Regions from separate parts of the Homo sapiens genome. Here all the other regions are linked to region 1. The links are contacts of gene promoters, found by promoter capture Hi-C in blood cells and fetal thymus (Javierre and others, 2016). All regions are on one chromosome and are shown on one strand. Each heading gives the region's core, a stretch centred on a gene start or on the middle of the fragment in contact. The rest is flanking DNA. Distances are from core to core; before and after follow the strand shown.

Evidence for each region. Contacts are between HindIII fragments. The CHiCAGO score rates a contact against its expected background, and 5 or more counts as called.
Region 2: a contact is called between a fragment that was not itself captured here and the fragment with the promoter of UBA2 in region 1, in 2 of 17 cell types (fetal thymus and non-activated CD4 T cells). The highest score is 8.3, in fetal thymus.
Region 3: a fragment that was not itself captured here is called in contact with the fragment with the promoter of UBA2 in region 1 in 5 of 17 cell types (naive CD4 T cells, naive CD8 T cells, non-activated CD4 T cells and 2 more); the score reaches 6.5 in naive CD4 T cells.

What each region holds. Positions count from the first base shown.
Region 1 is chr19:34,425,747-34,430,227 of GRCh38, forward strand. It overlaps UBA2 (ubiquitin like modifier activating enzyme 2), which reads left to right and starts at 2,635. Exons shown (of 17, transcript NM_005499.3): 1 at 2,635-2,824. The coding sequence starts at 2,687. It overlaps LOC124904695 (a long non-coding RNA gene), which reads right to left and starts at 2,618. Exons shown (of 2, transcript XR_007067232.1): 1 at 2,376-2,618; 2 at 360-655. PDCD2L (programmed cell death 2 like) reads left to right here. Exons shown (of 7, transcript NM_032346.2): 7 at 244-422. The coding sequence ends at 374. RefSeq lists silencers at 2,523-2,762, 2,793-2,902, 2,973-3,132. The HindIII fragment of the contact is 4,339 bases long and covers 1,521-4,481 here.
Region 2 is chr19:34,175,487-34,179,967 of GRCh38, forward strand. The region is part of intron 1 of LSM14A (LSM14A mRNA processing body assembly factor); the gene reads left to right. Among named protein-coding and RNA genes, the nearest start is that of LSM14A, 5.2 kb to the left of the region's middle. The HindIII fragment of the contact is 8,937 bases long and covers 1-4,481 here.
Region 3 is chr19:34,218,985-34,223,465 of GRCh38, forward strand. LSM14A (LSM14A mRNA processing body assembly factor) reads left to right here. Exons shown (of 10, transcript NM_015578.4): 7 at 407-589; 8 at 722-893; 9 at 2,523-2,754. Among named protein-coding and RNA genes, the nearest start is that of GARRE1, 33 kb to the right of the region's middle. The HindIII fragment of the contact is 2,440 bases long and covers 593-3,032 here.

The DNA.
Region 1 (4,481 bases), core at 1,385-3,884:
TTGCTGAAATTTTTGTTTATTTTTAAAGTATATTTTCCTGCCACTTTAAATTAATTTTGCTTTTTTGTTATCAATATTCACTTATTATAGGATAGACTGTGATTCTGTTATAGCTGAAAGCAGTAAGCACTGTTTTTGCTTTACCTAATTACTTTTTCAGCTTATAAGGTAAAATCATTCCTTTTAGTAACATCAGTCTCATAACTCTTTTTGCTGGAAGCCTGAATATGTGGTATTTTTCAGGTCTTTCTGTGGAATTTGGAACAATTCTAGTTTACACATGTGAGAAGAGTTGCTGGCCCCCAAATCATCAGACTCCCATGGAAGAATTTTGTATTATACAAGAAGACCCAGATGAATTATTGTTTAAGTAGAGCATTTCCTTTTATTAATATAAATTAAAACAAATGTTTACATCCAAATATGTTTGTATGTACCTTATTTTAACTCACAAGTTATTAACCTCTGTTTTTCTGAGTTGCCTTTTTGCCTTTGGGTGCTGGTGCCGGGGCCGGGGCCGGGCCAGGACCTCCTGACTGTGGGTTGGTCTGCCCTTCCAGGGTCCAGGGCCAGCTGTCACAGTGGCAGCTAGGAAGGTAGCTCCTCTCTAGTCCAGAGGGCTGGTGTTGTCTGCACAGCCGTTCTGGTGGGCATTCTAGGGGGGAGGAGAGCAGCGAAAGAGCCAAGAGCAGTGGTCAGCCTCTTGTGTACACCTCTGACACGTGCACTCCAGTGCTTCCTATGCTGTTTCTGGCACCTGATCAAGCCACTGAACCTGCTCTAGCTGCTGGAGGTTTTTGCTCTGTGACCCTGGCTGTTTAGACCTGCCCATGTTCATCAGCCCAGGTCCCCGCCCTCACCCACTCCCATCTTCTGCTCCTGCAGTATCCCAGGAAGGGGTCTTTACTCCGTTCTGGAGACTGTCCCTTTATCCAGCTGCCTTCCAGTCTTCCCCTTTCTTTATTTTTAACATGATCAACCCCTTCCCTTCAGCCCCATAACAGCAGTATAAAAACACTCCCAGCCATGTTCAGACATGCTCTGCCTACGTAGATGAGGATAATGAGGCCTAGGTGATCATGGGGTGGGCTTGTTTCTTGCATTTAACATTATATTTGGAGCATTTTCCCATTAATATTTTTCCCACAACATAATTTATAATTGCTCTATTTTTTAAATATACATCAAAAGCTTTATACAATTTTTAGCCACTTGTATTTTCCAATTTTTATTCCCATGATGGCCATCCCTGTAACTAAATTTATATATATTTTAAATCAATGATAACTGCTACAGGACAGTTTCCTAGAATTGGAATGAATGAGTCAAAAGTTGTGCACAATTTTAGGGTTTTTTTTTCTTTTTTTTCGAGACAGGGTCTTGCTCTGTCTCTCAGGCTGGAGTGCAGTGGTAAGGGCATAGCTCACTGCAGCCTCGACCTCTCAGGCTTAAGTGATCCTCCTGCCTCAGCCTCCTGAGTAGCTGGGACTACAGGTGCAAGCCACCACGCCCTCTAGAGAAGCTTTGCTTTGGAATCTTTACCTGGAGTGTGTTGGAGTGCTTGTTTCCCAATCCCTTGATAAGTGTTACTTATTTTTTCTTTCTACCAGTTTAGTAGGTGAAAAACTTTTTTTTTTTTTTGAGACAGAGTCTCGCTGTATTGCTCAGGCTGGAGTGCAGTGGTGCAACCTCCGCCTCCTGGGTTCAAGCAATTCTCCTGCCTCAGCCTCCTGAGTAGCTGGGGCTACAGGCTTGTGCCACCACCCCCAGCTGTTTCGGTGTTTTTTTTTGTTTGTTTGTTTGTTTGTTTTTTTGAGACGGAGTCTGTTGCCCAGGCTGGAGTGCAGTGGCGCGATCTCGGCTCACTGCAACCTCTGCCTCCTGGGTTCAAACGATTCTCCTGCCTCAGCCTCCCGAGTAGCTGGGATTACAGGCGCACGCCACCACGCCCGGCTAATTTTTGTATTTTTAGTAGAGATGGGGGTTTCACCATGTTAGTCAGGCTGGTTTCAGAACTCCTGACCTCGTGATCCACCCGCCTCGGCCTCCCAAAGTGCTGGGATTACAGGCGTAAGCCACCGCGCCCGGCAGGTGAAAATCTTACCATTTTGCATGGTTTACATTTTTTTCTTTTTTGAGACGGAGTCTTGCTCTGTTACCCAGCCTGGAGTGAAGTGGTGCGATCTTGGTTCACTGCAACCTCCACCTCCAGGGTTCAAGCGATTCTTTTATGGTTTACATTTTAATACGCTTATTGATCATATTGTCCAATTTTTTGTGAGTTTCCTGTTCACATCCTTTGCCTATATTTTTTTGGGGGTGACACTTGTTAATTTGTAAGAGCTCTTTACGTATAGGGACATCAGTTTTCTAACCTGTAAGGAAGTCTTGGCTGGGAGTTGAAACCCCAGGCTAGAAGGCGACCCTTAGACTTTTTAGGTCTGATGGCGGGCCTATGCTGGTGTGGGAATAACACCGCCGGTCTCAGCTGGAGGTCGCCAGCCCTTTGCAAGAGCCTGCCGGTCCCCGCGGGCTGCAGCACACCCCGGCGCGATGTGCCCTGCCTGTGTCTGCCGGAGGCTGTAGTGCGCAGGAGCGGAAACCAGGCCGCCCTTCCCCCACCCGCTTCCGGCCGCGGCTCGGTTCTCCCGCCTCCGCCTCCGCCGCGGCTCGTGGTTGTCCCGCCATGGCACTGTCGCGGGGGCTGCCCCGGGAGCTGGCTGAGGCGGTGGCCGGGGGCCGGGTGCTGGTGGTGGGGGCGGGCGGCATCGGCTGCGAGCTCCTCAAGAATCTCGTGCTCACCGGTTTCTCCCACATCGACCTGGTGAGGGCCGGGCGCGCGCGCGTGAATGGCGGGCTGTGGTGCGGGGGCTGGGATTCGGGGGTTCCGGGGCTCCAGGGGCTCTGAGGCTCAGGGCCCGGAGCCCGGGACCGGAGTTGCGGAGCGGGGGCAGGCTGAGAGGCTCGGGTTGTGCCCCCCCCGCGGGAGGAGACTGTTCTTTGGGCACGGGGCGGGCCTCCGCTCGCTGGGCCGGCTCCGGACGCCGAGGAGGCCGCGGGCCCCCGCCTCCCCGGCAGCGCCAATGTGTGGCGCTTCGTGGGCGTGAAGCCGCCTCTTATCCTCCCTTCAAAACAAATTCCCGGCTGTTAGGAGATGCGGGAGAGGATTGAGTCCCTCGCGGATGTTGTGACTTTAATTTTGAGGTCCCTGTCGTAACTCCGAAGTAACGACGCGGGGCGGAGGATGGCAATGATAGCGACCAACGCGTCCCGAGCGCTGGTCACGAGCGGGTTTACACACGGAACGCGCACCATCTTCATACCACCCGAGGAGTGCAAACGCTATTTCCACCCTGCTTTATTTTTAACAGATGAGGAAAGGGAGACGCAATGGGGTTGAGTAACTTACCCTGGGTCACGGAGCGAGTGGCAGGGCTCCCGCAGGCTGCGTGACTGTCATTGCTCTCACAGTAGACGGTACACTCGCTTGTTTCATTAAAGACGTTAGGACTGTGCCTTTTGCATTGGTGTACGTTGACAAGCCAGTGCTATTTTGAATCGTTATTTCTACTAATGCAAACTTTTTAGAGATTGGAGATGTTACTGGCCCTTCGGTGTGAGTTTAAAGTGTCTTAAGGGCTAGTGGAAACATGGAATGAACAAAAAAGTACGGGTGGCCGACTGAGTCATTGTTTCTTTCCTTTATGTATTATATATTTAAGCAAAAATTAGATAAAACTTAAAACATGATACTTTTTTAACCATGTGTAAAAGTTTCCTTTCACAGTTCTCAGGTTAATAGTAAATGAAATTGTGTATGGATGAAGGCTTGAATTAAGGGAGGCAGCAAAAATTCAATAAACGTTTGCCATGTATCATTTAAGAAAAAGAACAGAACCTGGGCAACATAGAGAAACCCCGTCTCTACAAAAAAAGAAAATTAGCGGGGCGTGGTGGTGTGCGCCTGTGGTCCCAGCTACCCGGGAGGCTGTGTCAGGAGGATCGCTTGAGCCTGGGAGGTCGAGGCTGCAGTGAGCTGTGTTTGCACCACTGCACTCCAGCCTGGGCAACAGAGGGAGACCCTGTCTCAAAAAACAAAGAAAAAGAACAGGGCATAGTTAAATTTAATATTTTGTACTTGAAAGAGTAATTCGATTGAAAGAGAAATACTTTAGTATTTTTTGAGACAGGGTCTGGCCCTGTCACCCTGGCTAGAGTGCAGTGGCCCGATCTCGGCTCACTGCAACCTCCGCCTCCCAGGCTCCAGTGATCCTCCACCTCAGCCTCCCGAGTAGCTGTGACTACAGGCATGTGCCACCTAATTTTATTTTTTCTATTTCTTGTAGCCACCAGGGTCTCACTATTTTGCTTAGGCTGGTCTTGAAGGTCTGGGCTCAAGCGATTCTCTCACTTTGTCCTCCCAAAGTGTTGGGATTACAGGTATGAGCCACCACTCCCGGTGTAGAGAAATATGTTAATAT
Region 2 (4,481 bases), core at 1,208-3,707, 250 kb before region 1:
CTCCCAGAATGCCGGGATTACAGGCATGAGCCACCGCACCCGGCTGCTTTTTCTTAAGCAACATGAGTTAAATGTGTAACCAGTTTGGGGAATTTGATTATGTTCGCAAAAACTGACATTATCAAACCTTTATATATTAGTCTACATGATATTATCTAATCGAAAACTACATTATAACTGTCTAGTCAATACTGGACACATTTCAGATTTCAAGATTAGAAGCAAGGAGTTCAATCTTAAAATTTTAAAATTTACATGACTTGTTGAGTAATTCGATATCAGAAAATTTCACCTTCCATTTCAAAATTTGAACGAAGAATGGTAGTCTAAAAGATTAAAGCCAAAAGTGTTTGTTTTGTTTTGTTTTCGTTTTTTTTTGTTGTTGTTTTGAGACAGAGTCTTGCTCTTGCCCAGGCTGGAGTGCAGTGGTGCGATCTTGGCTCGCTGCAGCCTCCACCTCCCGGGTTCAAGCAGTTCTGCCACAGCCTTCCGAGTAGCTGGGACTACAGGCGCCCAACACAGCTGGCTAATTTTTGTATTTTGAGTAGAGACGGGGTTTCACCATGTTGGCCAGGCTGGTCTCAAACTCCTGACCTCAGATGATCCACCCACCTTGGCCTCCCAAAGTGCTGGGATTACAGGTGTGAGGCACTGCACCCGGCCTGAAGCCAAAAGTTTATTCATGGAATTTATAATACAGTGTGTATTTGGATGTAGAGATCCCTGTTACTGTTTTTAAACTATGGATTAAGAGTTAATCTCTTTGAGTAACAGTCTTAGCATTCTCTTTTGAACTTTTTTTTTTTTAATTTCTCAGGGAGAGTGTTATTGGGAAACCTAACTACACAGGCTGAAAAGATACATAAGATAAAAATGAAATATTTTTAAACAAACATCTTTGTAACCACCACCCAGGGCAAGACAGACATTGCCAGCATCCCAGAAGCCTCCCACCACCTATATTTTCCCATCACAACTATCACCATCTTAATTTAAGCTAGATATAAATGTTCTTCTGACATTTATAGTTTTACCATATAAGTTTACATCTCTAAATAATAGAGTTTAATTTTGCCCATTTTTAACTTTATGTAAATAGGATTGTGTTGTATATATTTTATTTTTAGCTTTTATTGTTTCATAATATTCCATCATGAATATAACACAAGTTTATTCCTTCTGCCATTGTTTTGGATATTGCATTTAGATTGTTTGCAGTTTGGGGCTATTATAAACAATGCTTTTATGAACATTTCTGTTTAAGTGCACTGGTGCATGTTTATTTCGTTTTCTTGAGATTATATACTTAGAATTTGAATTGCAAGAACATGGGGAATGTTGGTCTTTATCAGGTAATGCCAGGTAGTTTTTCAAAGTAGTTGTTTAGTGGTTTTTACTTCATTTATTAGTATGTAAGAGTTCTTGTTTCATATCCCTTACCAACAACCGTACGTGGTATCATATATTTCAATTCTAGCCAATCCTGGTGGGTATGTAGTTGTATTTAGTTTTAATCATTTCCCTCATTACTAAATGGGGCTGACCAGCTTTTCATATCTGGGTGTTTGGATTTCATTTTTCATAAAATGCCTTTGAAATCTTTTCCTTTTTTAAATCGAAACACGTCTTTTTCTAGAGTTCTGTATTCTGAATATATCTCCATTGTTGGATGTATATATTGCAAACATTTTTTCCATTTAGTAGTTTCTTTAAATTAACAGAAGTTCTTCATTTTAATGTAAACATGTTCATCAGTTTTTTATGGCTAGTGTTTCTTTTTTTAAAACATCATAGAGATACTTTGATTATCTTTAAACCTTTTTGTGCTTTGCTTTTTCACATTGACGTTTATAATGCATCTGAAATTGATTTTGTGTACAATGTGAGATATTCAGAGCTTTATATTTAGTAAGGGATTCACTTGGTTTATATTGTCCATATTATAATTTAGGGCTTGGATATTATAATTTAAATATATCTGGAACTATAAACTACTCTTGAAATTTTTGGCTATTTACATTTGATGTGGTATATAATTAGGGTAACCATATGGCCTAGTTTGCCCTGGTGGAAAGTCCTTGTTTGTGCCTGCTCTGGCATAATTATTAAAAACATCCCGGCTGGGCAGGGTGACTCAGGCCTGTAATCCCAACATTTCCAAAAGGTCAAGGCCGGGGTATTGCTTGAGCCCAGGAGTTCAAAACCAGCCTCGGCAATACAGGGAGACTCCATTTCTACAAAAAATTTTAAAAAGTGCATTAGCCAAGCATGGTGGCATGCATGTCTGTCGTCCCAGCCACTTGGGAGGCTGAGGCAGGGGGATTGCTTGAGCCCAAGAGGAGCTGTGATCATGCCACTGCACTCCAGCCTGAAACATAGAACAAGACCTTGTCTTAAAAAATAACAATGATAGCCTGTAATCCCAGCACTTCAGGAAGCTGAGGCAGGCGAATCACCTGAAGTCAGAAGCTCGAGACCAGTCTGGCCAACATGGCGAAACCCCGTCTCTACTAAAAATACAAAAATTATCTGGGCGTGCTGGTGCATGTCTGTAATCCCAGCTACTTGAGAGGCTGAGGCAGGAGAATTGCTTGAACCTGAAAGGCGGAGGTTAGAGTGAGCCAAGATCACACCACTGTACTCTAGCCTGGGCAACAGAGCGAGACTCTGTCTCAAAAAAAAAAAAAACACAAAATAATAATAATAATCTGTTTTCTCTTTTGAAAATGTTTCAGTGTGGATAAGTTATCACACCACATAATCAAAAGCCTAATTGCAGAGGTGCTGTGAAATGGTCGATGTGCCTTATTTTCTGCTAGAGATGTCACAGACTAGCTTTAGTTCTAGAAAGTGAAACAGGTAAGTTTGAGGGGCTTTGATCCTCGGAACCTAAGCATATGTCAAGAAGTCATAAAGGCAACCTAGAAAGGCTTTGATGTCAATCTGCTATGTATGTTTATAGATGATCTGTGTTGCAGTTTGTTTCTGCAGTTTGTTGCAGTTTGTAGTCTGTGTCACAGCTCTGAATTTATTTTCTTCTCAGCACTGATCATGACTTACACTTAATCTTCTTTGCTTATTTGCATATGTGTTTATTGTCTGTCTTCACCTTCCCCTTCACCTCCAGACTCTGAGCTCCTGGTATGAAAGGTTGTTTAGTTAGTGAGTAAATGGAAATGATTTAGCATTTTAGCTTATTGTTCTTGTAGAAGTATCTTGGGTATACCTCCAAATAATGCTTTTCCATGTTCACAATTGCATTTCCCTATAAAATTAAATTATCCTGCCTCACATTAAGAAATCTTGAAGAATTTCAGTGAGTAGGGATGCAAGAGGATGAAATCTAGTGACATAATTAACATTATTGGGGAGGTAAACTCTTTGTGACTCAAGCTCAATTATAATTTTCATTTAAAGTTTAAAGGAAGCCTCCATTCAGGGTGTAGGAAGAAATTACACAGTGGTGACATGTATGAATATTTTATGGAATAGTTCCAGTTGTGTTTGCACCTACGTCTATAAGTGAGTAGGATGCCTAAATAGGCTAAAATGAATGAAATTCTTATAAAAAATAAATTCTTACATTTAGTTAGCTTACCTGGATAATCATTCAAATGGAAACCAGGTTGCTACTGCACTGGGAAAAGAGACTTTATGAAGAACGATTATATAAGCCACTTGCCTTTAAAATAAGTTGTTCTTAAAATCAAGAGATTGGTGGAAGAATAGAAAAACAAGTAAATTGTTAACAGATTTCTTTAATCATCTGCTAAGTCTGGCTCATTGGCATAATTTATCTACTTCTTGATGTTAGTCACATAGTCATAAACTATTACCTTATTGGAGAGAGTGGAAGAGCTTTGTGTGATGGATAAAATACTTGCGGGGTGCTTTATTTGATTTCTTGCATTACTTGGGGATCTAAATCTAGCAATTCACAAAATTACTATCTAAAATGACAAAGATCTAGTGAAACTTCAAGCCACAGTTTCTTTTTGTTGCCCTATTTAGTGATGTTGCCAGTACTTGGAGCCTTGGAAACAGTTTATTATTGTTACATAGTCCGCAGAAATACTTGGTAATTCTGGGAGTCTGAAGTCAGGTGCCAGAAACTGTTCATTTTCTAGTAGGGGTAAGTAAGGTAAGCCATGATTTTCTAAGTCGGAAGTAAAGAAAACAGCATAAAACTGAAGAAAAAAAATAGTAGAAGGAAGGAAGTAGGAAGAAAAAAGAAATCTTATCTGTGCATGATACATAGCAGGAGTTTTGTATTTAACTCAGTGCCACAGTAATAATAGCAGTAACTACAGATAGTTTAACTTGAATTTAATTATTCCGTGCTAGAAGATGCTTGCTATAGAAACAATTTGTCTTTCTCTCATGATGCTATAAAATAATATATTAATTAGCTGTTTTAAAAACTAGATACCATTGAAGTAAATTTTGTTGTTGTTGTTTTGAGACAAGAGTCTCACTCTGTT
Region 3 (4,481 bases), core at 563-3,062, 210 kb before region 1:
TACATTTTGAGAACCCACTGTGTGTCTGGCACTTCAGTTTGCCGGTGTTGGGGATATAGCAGTAAGGAAAACAAAGCCCCTGACCTCAAGGAGCATACATTAATTTAGTGCAGAAGCCTCCACACTTGCCTGGCTGTATACTCTGTCAGTAACACATGTGAGTGTGGACTCCATAAATACAAATGTTTAGAAATTTTGTGTGAGCTATTCTCAGTCTACATATTAAATATTAGTGAAACTTAATTTTTTATTTTGTATAAAAAATACAAATACAATAAAATATATAGAGAGACCTGTAAGCATTTCTGTTGTTGACTGTTGAATCTAAAGAGCACAATAGCAACATCTGTGCTAAACCAGCTATTACATATTGAATGTCCTTTGTATATATTCTTTATTATCATAGCTCCAGGTGCTCCTTCAGCTCCAAGGAGAGGGCGTGGGGGTCATCGGGGTGGCAGGGGAAGATTTGGTATTCGGCGAGATGGGCCAATGAAATTTGAGAAAGACTTTGACTTTGAAAGTGCAAATGCACAATTCAACAAGGAAGAGATTGACAGAGAGTTTCATAATAAACTTAAATTAAAAGGTAAGCTTTGATTTTTCTTTTCAGAAAATAATCTTATTTGATCTGTGAATTACAGATGTTTCTCAGATTAGGTGTTTTTATGTAATTCAGATTAGCTGTCTTGACTTTTCTGATATGTGCTTTTGTTCTTAGAAGATAAACTTGAGAAACAGGAGAAGCCTGTAAATGGTGAAGATAAAGGAGACTCAGGAGTTGATACCCAAAACAGTGAAGGAAATGCCGATGAAGAAGATCCACTTGGACCTAATTGCTATTATGACAAAACTAAATCCTTCTTTGATAATATTTCTTGTGATGACAATAGGTACAGTTTTTAAGCTGTTCTTTTATCTTATGATATTGATTGAAGTGTAAAATGGTTTCATGTAAATTCACGAGGTTTAATGAATACTACCATAATTGTTTTGTTTTGTTTTGAGACAGTCTTACTCTGTTACTCAGGCTGGAGAGCAGCAGTGCAGTCACAGCTCACTGTAGTCTCAAGCTCCTGACCTCAAGCAATCCTCCCATCTCAGCCTCAGTAAAGGGGACTACAGTTGTACACCACCCCACCCGGCTAATTTTTTTCATTTTTTTGTAGAGATGGGGGTCTCGCTATGTTGCCCAGGCTAATCGTGAACTCCTGGCCTCAAGATCAGCCTCCCAAAGTACTAGGATTACAGGCGTGAGCCACCACACCTGGCCATAATTGATTTTTTAATGTTTTATTTGCTAAAAGAAAATATATACTAAAGTTCTAAATTATTCATTCAAAAGAAGAAATAACCATATACTTTTGTTTAAGGATATATTCATATTTGAATATTAGCAATTAAAACAAGCATTTAGGTAATGTCTAAGTAGGACCTTTTTTTCACCCCTGTATGTTACAGTTCAAATGAAGCCAGAACCGAAGTGCTAATCTACTTTGAAGTTTGCTGGTACCATAAAACTGCCAGATTGTAGTAAATGTGGGTCCAGAAAATTGGCAAATTATTGAGAGGTTAATTAAAGGACCCAGTGTGAGGAACTAACAGTTCTAGAGGTTCTCCTGCCCAATCCAAATTGTCATTGTCCTTGTCCTTTTCCTGGCTGAAGTTTGGTGCCCTCTGGTGGCAGTTGTTTGCTTCAATATAAACATGGATGGACATAATTCTGAGTCCCACGATTGGCTGGATGACAGCAGCAATAATTCAGATACTTCTTGGGTTACTTGGTATCGGGTCCATAGATTGGGCCAGGAACATAATGGGGACCTAAGGGCCCACCTTCCATCTCCTAGCTTCCCAAGACAAGGCCTCCCTGTCTGACTTTACCTTCTTTTCCCTTGGGGCTGAGTGGAAAGCGAAGTCAATTACCAATCTCATTATATCTGAATTTCCATTATTTTGGAGCTGTTACTATGTTTATCAGGTGTATTTGCAAGAAACTAATGTCAGTCATGTGTTCACATGAAGTTTAACAGAATATTACAGGAACATATTGAACTCATATGCCATGAACAACTCGTGATAACTTAGATAAGATGCTTTTTTTTTTTTTTTTTTGAGATGGAGTTTCGCTCTTGTCACCCAGACTGTAGTGCAGTGGCTCGATCTCGACTCACTGCAACCTCCACCTCCCAGGTTCAGGTGATTCTCCTGCCTCAACCCCCCAAGTAGCTGGGATTACAGGCACCTGCCACCATGCCCAGCTATTTTTTGTATTTTTGGTAGAGAATGAGTTTCACCATTTTGGCCAGGCTAGTCTCGAACTCCTGACTTCAGGCGATCCGCCCCCTCGGCCTCCCAAAGTGCTGGGATTACAGGCGTGAGCCATCACGCCTAGCCAAGATGCTTATTTCTAATTAGCTTTAGTAATTACTTAGGCTTAATTTGGGAGTAGCACTGCATATTTTGGCTGAGGGATATTCTTTTAAACCTGATATGCTGAAGATTATTTGCTTTTATAATAGAGAACGGAGACCAACCTGGGCTGAAGAAAGAAGATTAAATGCTGAAACATTTGGAATCCCACTTCGTCCAAACCGTGGCCGTGGGGGATACAGAGGCAGAGGAGGTCTTGGTTTCCGTGGTGGCAGAGGGCGTGGTGGTGGCAGAGGTGGTACCTTCACTGCCCCTCGAGGATTTCGCGGTGGATTCAGAGGAGGTCGTGGGGGCCGGGAGTTTGCGGATTTTGAATATAGGGTAAGTGTTACTGTTAATAAATTCTTTGGGGTTGACATGCATTTTACAAGACTCAAAACATTTTTACTTGTTTTTGTTTTGGGTGAATTGTTTTGAGGACATTAGAATAACTTCCATTTTGACTTTTCAGTAGAGGATATACGTGATTCAGATGTATATATAAAGACATTATACAAAAAAAGACAGTATAGTATCACCTTTATTTCATGTTAACAGAATATACTTTTAACACCCAAAGAGTCTATCTAGGAAGCACATACTCCCAGAATGGAAGGGCAAGCTTTAACATTTAATAGCAGTTAACATTTATATAGTATTTACCAAGTAACAAGACATTGTTTTAAATATTTTTTTACATATTAACTTATTTAAACTGCACATCAACTCTGTGAGGTAGGTTCTATTATTATCCCCATTTTACAAGTGAGGAAATGGGTATAGAGATATTAAGTAACTTGCGAAAGGTCACATAGCTAGTAAGTGATGGTGCTGGGTGTTGAGCCCAGCAAGTTGTTTCCTGAGTCAGTACTCTTAATTTGGTTTTGTTGAAAATTCACTACATTTTCCCTGGTTTTCTCCTTTCACCATGAAATTGAAAATGTTTCGATATATTGGCCTTCAGGAGCTACTGCTAGAGAATTCTGTAACTCTGTATAGTAGCCTTATGTGTATAATGTAGCTTTTGACAGGTGTCTGTAAATTAAGTCAGCATAGTAACTATCTCAGTTAACAGTAAACTATCTTAGTTTATTGATTTTAGAAGTAGTGGAGAGGAAGGGCTATAACAGAAAGGACCAAAATCTTGTAAAGAGTTCCACTTGTAATAGCAACAGGCAGCTGGAAACAGAAAGACCTGTTAGCAGGAGTTCCATTGCCCAGTACTTAAAACTGGCCATTGTTGAGATCTCTCTGGAAAGAGATCAGTATTAGTGGCTTTTGGACCTGCTCTATTAATTTTAATGCTTTTGATATTGTGCCATCACAGCCAAGACTGCCAAAAATTATACTCAAGTCACCAGCTTATGCCATCCAGCCGTTGGTGGCCTTATGTAGTTGCGGGACTTCTGACTTGCAAAATCACCTTCCCAGCTAGGAGAATCTGTCTTAGGAACTCCAGAATAGCCCTCGCTTATCACTGTTACTGCCCTTAAGTTTGCCAGTGACACCTTGCTTACAGAATTCAGCAGTAGTATTTTCACAAATATTTTATTTGCCATTAACTCCTCTGCAATATTTGACACTGACCAACCACCCAATTTGGGGTCTTTCTTCCTAGTCTTTAAAATACTCTTCTAGGTTTTCAATTTATACTCTTCCTAATTTTTTAATACTCTTCATTCTTTTTTTTGGGGGGTGGAGGGTGTCAGGGTCTTGCTGTGTCACCCAGACTGGAGTGCAATGGCATGATCATAAGTCACTGCAGCCTCAACCTCCCAGGCTCAGGCAGTCCTCCCACCTCAGCCTCCTATGTAGCTGGGACTACAGGCATGCACCACCATGCCCAGCTAATTTTTAATTTTTTTTGTAGACACTGGGTCCCACTCTCACTATGTTGTCCAGGCTGGTCTTGAACTCCTGGGCTTAAGCGATCCTCTCACCTCAGCTTCCCAAAGTGCTGGGTTTATAGGTGTGCCATGGTGCTTGTTCCATCCTCCCTTTTGTAAGCCTGTCCTGGACCCTATGTGTTTCTGCACCGCATCTCTATCTGCACTGTTTGCTGTCAGCTT